Regions from separate parts of the Homo sapiens genome. Here region 2 is linked to region 1. Evidence: promoter capture Hi-C in human tissues and cell types (Jung and others, 2019). All regions are on one chromosome and are shown on one strand. The core of a region is centred on a gene start or on the middle of the fragment in contact, and the rest is flanking DNA. Distances in the headings are between cores, read along the strand shown.

Region 1 (3,447 bases), core at 445-2,944:
GTTGGCCTGGCATCAGAGTAAACACGTGGTGCCCAAGAAAAACAGACAAACACGCCCATGAAACTGTGTGTATACATATGCGTGTGGGCATGTACATAGATGTGTTCCCTTGCTCCGCCAGCTGCAATGACACCCCAGTAGCAATGAGCACATCCGGAGCCAGATCCCGGGCTCTGCATGACATTCTCCCACAATGAACCAGGCTGCAGCAGAAATAGCTGGGTTCAGGCTGGGGCAGGGAGAATACAACAGGGCCCTGGAGCATCTCGTGCCAGAAAGAAAGGGCTCCAGAAATGATGCGGACAGGTGAAGTGGGAGGGAGAGAGAAGGGTGGCAAGGCGTGGGTTCCCTGTCTGGTGGAGGCTCCCCTAGGTAGGGGGAAGCGCGTGGCACGGAGGGCAGGTGGCGGACGCATCTGGAAGCCGCACTTACTGTGTGTCCACTTTCTCACACAAGCACCATGCACACAAAACAAGAAGGAAAACGTCAGCTGAGAGAGGCGGGTGGTGTCCCAGGGTGTGGAGAGAGTAGAAGGTGGGAAATAGGTGTTGGAGGTGGCATGGCCCCTTGAGGTTGTGGCCCTGGTTGAGGGGAGGCCCAGTGGATGAGGTTGGGTCTCTCTCCCCTTCAGCTGTGCTGGTGCAGGCCTGGAGGAAAACGGACGCCAGGTTTGGTGTGGAAGGGGAGCTCGGAGGCGATGAAGGCCCAGGCAGGTGGAAGGTGGTGGTTGAGGACCGGGGAGCAGGGCGCTGGCTGGGGAGAGGCAGAGTGAAGAAGCCGAGGGTGAGGGGCAGCCGGAACTCAGCTGGAAAGACAGCAGGAGGCGGTGGGCGCAGGGGCGGGTTCCATGGACGTTCTGGAGGCTTCTGAGGACACCAAGCCTGGAAGCCAGGACATGTGGCCTTCTTGACTTCGTTCCCCTTCCTCACCTGGAGGTCTCCAGTCCCCGCTGTCCACTGCTCAGCGGCATGGGAGGAGTCCGCGGCCTTACCCCGACACTCCCGCCCACCGGCCCCCGCCCCTGCCAGGCGGCCCTGCTCGCAGCAGCGCGAGGAGCCACGGGGTGCTGCCCTCCTCCGCAGCCCGAGGCCCACTTCACACGCACTGAGCCCAAGCGCGAGTCTCTGCCCGTCAGCCGCGTCTGAGCTCGCCGCAGTCCCTGCTTGAGAGGCCGGGGGGCACCTGCGCCTGCCCGGGACCCTGACCTGCTAGCGGGGCCTGTTGCCTCCTCTGCAGGAAGCGATCTCGCCCGCGGTGCCCCCACCCGCCCCGTCCCCGGAGGGACCGCCCCCGCCCGCGGCCTTCCCGCCCCTGCCCTGTCGCTTGAGTGCCCCCCGCCCGCCGTTACCCCACCCCCGCCCCTGGAGGAGCCCCCGCCCACGGTTACCCAACCTTACCCTGTCCCCGGAGGGCTCCACGCCCGCGTTCCCCCCGCCCCATCCCAACTCCGAGGGTCCACTGCCCCGGTCCCCATCCCGCCCGGTCCCCGCAGGGCCGGGCCGCCGGGGGTCTCCCGGGGCAGCGGTACCCGAAGGCAGCAGCACGGCCCCTTTAAGCCGCTCGGACACGCGCTCGGGGCCCGATGCGGTTTGGACGCGCACAGGCGTGCGCGTGCCCGTCGGGCCTGGCGAGCGCGCGCGACGCGCGGCGTGCGTGGTGACGCGAGCGCGTGGGGTTTTCCGAGGCTGCGGGCAGGGGCCCGCCGCGCCCATCCCGATGGCTGGAGGCGTCTGAGGGGCGGACGGAGGCGGCGGCGGCGGCGGCGGGAGCGGGAGCGGGCGGCGAGTGGGGAGCGGGGCCGGGAGTGGAGCAGCCGCCGCGGCGGGACTGGACCGAGCCTCGCCGGCGCGCACCTGCCCGCAGCGCCCGCGGAGCGCGCAGCGCGGCCCGAGCGCGACGACCTGCCGAGCGGCGGCCGAGGCGGCGGTGTGGGCGCGTCAGGCCGCGACGAGGGCGCTGAGGTGAGCGCGGCAGCCCCCAGCCCCGGACCCGGGTCCTGTTCGTCCACCCGCCCGCCCTGGGGGCGCCCGCCCCGCCCCCACCCCACCCGCCGGTCGGGGCCGCGTCTTCCTGCCCCGCCCGGGTGCGGCGGGCGGCGTCCGAAGGGGGGGCCGGGGGCTGGGGTCCGAGGTTCGGGGTGCAGGGTCGGGGTCGAGGGCGGGGTCTAGGGAGAGGAGCCGGGGTCCCAGGCCCAAGGCTGGGGGCCGAGTTTCGGCACCGGGGTGCGGGGTTGTGTGCGCCGCGGGCGCTTCCCGTGGCGGCGGCCGGGGCCCCGGGGGCGCGGGTCGGGCGGGGCCGGGCCCTGCGTGGGGAGCCGGACGTGGCTCTCGGGCCCGCGGCGCGAGAACAAAGGCCGGGCGGGCCTGCAGGCGGGGCGGTGTCGGCGGCCGGAGCCCCCGCGCGGGCCGCCTATCGGGGTGACTTTGAGGGCCGGGCGGCCGCGGGGCGCGAGCGTGGGGAAGGGGAACAATGAAATGGGGAAGCCGGGCCGCGCGCCGCGGTCGGAGTAGGGATTTAAAGCGGAAGCCGGGCGCGGCGTCGGGAAATGGGAAAATAACGGTTTCGGCCCTTTTCGCTGTGTCGAGCCGCTGAGGCAGTCGCGCTGTGGCCTCGCCCTTCTCCTGCCGAGGCCCGGGTCTGTCCGGCGCTGGCGCCCCGCGCGTGTCGACTCGAGGGTTGCGCGGACCCCGGCCCGGCCCCGCGAATGAATGGGCCCGGTGGCCGCGCCAAGATGGCGCTCCCACCGCTGCCTTTGTGGGGCGGCCGCCGCCGCGCCGAGTTTCGGGGCCCGGTTTGCGATATTCCGAAGGCCCGAAGGTGGGGGAGAGGACAGGAAATAGCACAAAGGCTGGGTGTCTTCCTCTTGCCTGGATCGGCTTTTCGGCTGGAAGCGGGGTGGGGGTGGGGAGTGGGGAGATCTGTTGAAAATTCCACAGGGCTGTCGGCTGAGGCTTTTGACTTTTAAGAACCTGCTATATTTTTTCTTGTGAATCGATAGTTGATTCAAATGATATTTTAACATTTCTTGTGTCCGTTAAATTACATGGTTAGCATGCAGAAGCAGTATCAGCTTTTGTTTGCTTAATTCATCTTCATGGAAGCCTTTTTTTTTTTTTTTTTTAAGAGATGGGATCTCTTTGTAAAAGAGATCCTGTTAACCAGGCTGGTCTCGAACTCTGGGGCTCAAGCGATCCTCCCGCCTCAGCCTCCCAAAGTGCTGGGATTAGCGGCCTTAGCCACCGTGCCCAGCCTGTCTTCATGGAAGCTTTTTCTTAAGATTGTGAAATGGGCTCCTGAAGGAAAACGCCGATGTTAAAATTTGTGTTTTGAAAAGGGAGTTGGTGTACATTTACAGTTAGGGTGTACAGTACTGGACTTATGGGTAAATAGTGTAGAAATGGTAACCTATGGTTTTCTTTTGGGGAGCATTGGTTCATTGTATTTTCA
Region 2 (3,447 bases), core at 456-2,955, 510 kb before region 1:
CCAGGCCTGTCCCACCAGCAGCTGTGCCAAGCCCACTCTCACCCCGCCTCCCCCACTGGGATGGGTGCCGCTCCCCATTTACAGATGGGAAAACTGAGGCCTACAGGAAAGGGGCTCTTTGTTATTTTCTAGTCTCCTCCAAACAGCAACAACAGAGAGGGGCTGTGTTCCCAGCAATCTTTTCATCACATATCCTACACAGAAGACTCACAGGCTTCTGGCCACACAGTGAGAGCATACCCTACTCCCTGACAGCAGGTTCCCCCAGAACGAGGAGGGTCCTGGCAGGGAGCTGCGTGTGGGTTTTCCCTCAATGGCCACCACGTCCTGGAATGCAGTTGTTTGTTCCTCGCCTGGGGCTGGCCAGTCAGGCATGAACTCAGGGCCCCTACCTGGCCCAGGCAGGCCCAGGAGCTGCGTAAGTCTTCCAATAGTGGAGCACGAAGCACCAGGAACACTTCAGCTCACAGCTCCTCAGAAACCAGAGAAGGCCGCCCAAAGCCTGACCCGACCCGATGCTGGCATTAGAGTCCCGGCGGTCTCTGTGCACCACAGTGAGCTGCCTGTGGAACCCTCTGGCTACGGGAAAAGGTAACCTCGTCATGGCTGCCTCCGCTGATTCTGAGAGGGACCACTGACTGGGGTGGGACGGGGGCTGGAGTCGGACTGTCCACCTCAGACCCCTACTGTCTGTGGTGCCATGTGACCTCGAACACGTTACCTAACCCTGTATGCCTCAGTTTCCTCATCTGCAAAGTGGGAAAACAGAATGAACACCCACTTCGTGGCTGTCAGGAGGGTTTGAAGAGTCATTCTACAAACATATCCTGATCACCCAACATTACAAGTACATTTCAACCCCAAGAGAAGAGTCTCGGGTGTTTCCAGAGAACACTGGGCAATCCCATCAGAAAAGAAAGGCCCAACCTGCCCACACAGCCCAGTGCACAGCCGCTACCCTACCTGAGTCTTCCATTAAGGAAGGATCCACTTTGGGAGAAAGAAAAGCTATGAAAAGATTTAGATGGTAGATCCCCAAGGCATAGGTCACAATGTACCAACCCTGAAAGAGAAGGAAAGAGAGTCAGTGGTGCACTCTGACCGTCCATCAGCCTGAGCCAGTTCACGTTTGCACTCCGGTTCACTCTCAACTTTGTTAACTGATCTAACTTTGTTTTAACACAAAACTTACTCATAGCAAGGACAAGGAAATACAGTGAAATCCCATGGTAACAATTTATCTCAAATTATACTCTGTGGGAACAGAGACAAAGCGGACAAGCAAGGGCCCAAATGAGCAAAGCTCTTCAAGGGTCCAGTTAGACACATGTGATCCCTGAAGCCACAGACGCCCCACAAGGAGCGCAGCAGAAAAGGAGGCTTTTCTCAAGAAGCACATGCTCAAGCTACACCACAGGCTCGGGTGGCCCGGGCACCTGAGCGATGCTGGCCCAGAGCCCCACCCAGGAGCAGCTTCATCAGAAACAGAAGACAGACTCTCAACTGTGACTGGAGGCGTGCTGGCTGATGTTCCTCCAACAGACAATTCACATTGCCAAAAACACTCTGCCAGGAGGGTTAAACCTTTGCCCAGAAGAAATCCACAACTGGGAAATCCAGAAAAGTGTGCTTATGCCAAGCCTTCCTCAAGAGATGAAAAGTGGGGAGAATTTTGGCAAGATGCCTGAGTGCAGCACACTTATTTGCAACTAATTCATTTTTTAAAATGATTAAGCATATCCCGTTAAAAGCCAGAACCGCATTCTCAATTTCAAAAGCCTTAAATTTCTGTCGGGTGTGGTGGCTCACGCCTGCAATCCCAGCACTTTGGGAGGCCAAGGCGGGTGGATCACCTGAGGTCAGGAGTTCAAGACCAGCCTGGCCAACATGGTGAAACCTCGTCTCTACTAAAAATACAAAAATTAGCCAGGCATGGTGGCACATGCCTGTGATCCCAGCTGCTCGGGAAGCTGAAGTAAGAGAATCACTTGAACCCAGGAGGTGGAGGTTGCAGTGAGCCAAGATCAGGCCACTGCACTCCAGCCTGGGCGACAGAGTGAGACCCCATCTCAAAACAATAAATAAAAATATAAATGCTTTAACTTTCTTATACAAACAAGAAGTCTTTCTGCCTAAAAGCTTTTCCAGTCAGACGGCTGAACGCCAGATGTGAGGGCTAACTGATGTCTGTGTGTCCATCCCTGGCTGAACGCCGGATGTGAGGGCTAACTGATGTCTGTGTGTCCATCCTCGGCTGAACGCCGGATGTGAGGGCTAACTGATGTCTGTGTGTCCATCCTCGGCTGCAGGGCCACACCTGAAGAGACGCCAAATGAGGCACGAGCTTGGTTTCGAACGCAATAAAACTGACCTGTGGGTGCTGCACTCTTCCCGCCCCCTGCTCCTGCCTGAAGTCCCTGATTCAAGATTTCTAGGTCATTCTTTCCATCAGAGAATGGACCCAGTTCCAATTTAAAAACAAAAATAAATAAATAAATTAAGGTGTGTGCTTTAAACAAGGAAGTATCTTCTACAGTCCCCAGAGGAGAAAATAGCCCAGACAAGGCTTTCAACATGCCCTGCTCTGCACATAAGATTATGTAACCTCCTCTAAAGACCGACGAAGAATTCCCATCTTACAGGTTTGCTCCTAGAAACCCCGTGTTTACCAGCAAGTAAAGGAGCACCCAGGTGAAGTCTGAGACGACATCACCTGACCTAGGGGTGCCCGAAAACACACGAAGGAAACCCTCAAGACCCCCTTCGGTCACTGTCTCTCTTACTTGACTCGGCGTCTCAACCTGCACTGTGCTTTGGCCTCACACAAGGGAGAGCTCAGGAAAAGCTACATAAACCCTTTGGACGCCGAGTCATTCATGACACCCAAGGCATGGACTCTTCACCCAAGGAATGAGGCAGCCACAGAGCGCAACCTTGTCCTGAGCATCATGCAGCAGGGTCGGAGGGACACCAGCGGCTCCACTGTCCAGGCCTGGACGTGCCCAGGGCAGGGCCAGGCTGGGCTCAGGACGGCCTGGGTATACTGAGAAGCCTGGCGAGGCGACTCCGGGTGAATCATAAACAACCCTGTTCGTTAAAGACAGTCACTGAGATCTTTCTGACATTTGGCGTTTAGCTGAAAATTGATTACTAGAGACCACTTCCTGCAAGACAGACTGGATCAACAACATCCCCACAAACATCACGCCCAGGTAACGTGGACAGAGCCAAGTCTCGTCACTTCAGCCCACACCTACCTGCAGCAGGTAAACTCGAATCATGTAGACAAAGCTCAGGCCCAGTGTCACGACCCATCGCACAGCCGTGTAGGGTGTGGACTTGTCTAGCCAGGACTGATAAATCTAGAAAGACAAGAGTCCAAAAGCATGAAGCAGGTCCTGTAACTTCTGTACTGACCCTGCCACAAAATGTACCTTCTGCTAGGGT

Evidence for each region. The method cuts DNA at HindIII sites, captures the fragments that hold promoters and counts their contacts. A contact is called where the count stands out against the background at its distance.
Region 2: a fragment that was not itself captured here is called in contact with the fragment with the promoter of GNB1 in region 1 in 1 of the 25 tissues and cell types used here (heart right ventricle).

What each region holds. Positions count from the first base shown.
Region 1 is chr1:1,889,334-1,892,780 of GRCh38, reverse strand. It overlaps GNB1 (G protein subunit beta 1), which reads left to right and starts at 1,694. Exons shown (of 12, transcript NM_002074.5): 1 at 1,694-1,961. GNB1-DT (GNB1 divergent transcript) reads right to left here and starts at 1,601. Exons shown (of 2, transcript NR_168264.1): 1 at 1,398-1,601; 2 at 55-881. RefSeq lists silencers at 910-1,159, 1,220-1,319, 1,440-1,629, 2,190-2,379. The HindIII fragment of the contact is 12,240 bases long and covers 1-3,447 here.
Region 2 is chr1:2,397,031-2,400,477 of GRCh38, reverse strand. RER1 (retention in endoplasmic reticulum sorting receptor 1) reads right to left here. Exons shown (of 7, transcript NM_007033.5): 3 at 3,258-3,362; 4 at 964-1,063. Among named protein-coding and RNA genes, the nearest start is that of RER1, 6.9 kb to the right of the region's middle. The HindIII fragment of the contact is 8,492 bases long and covers 1-3,447 here.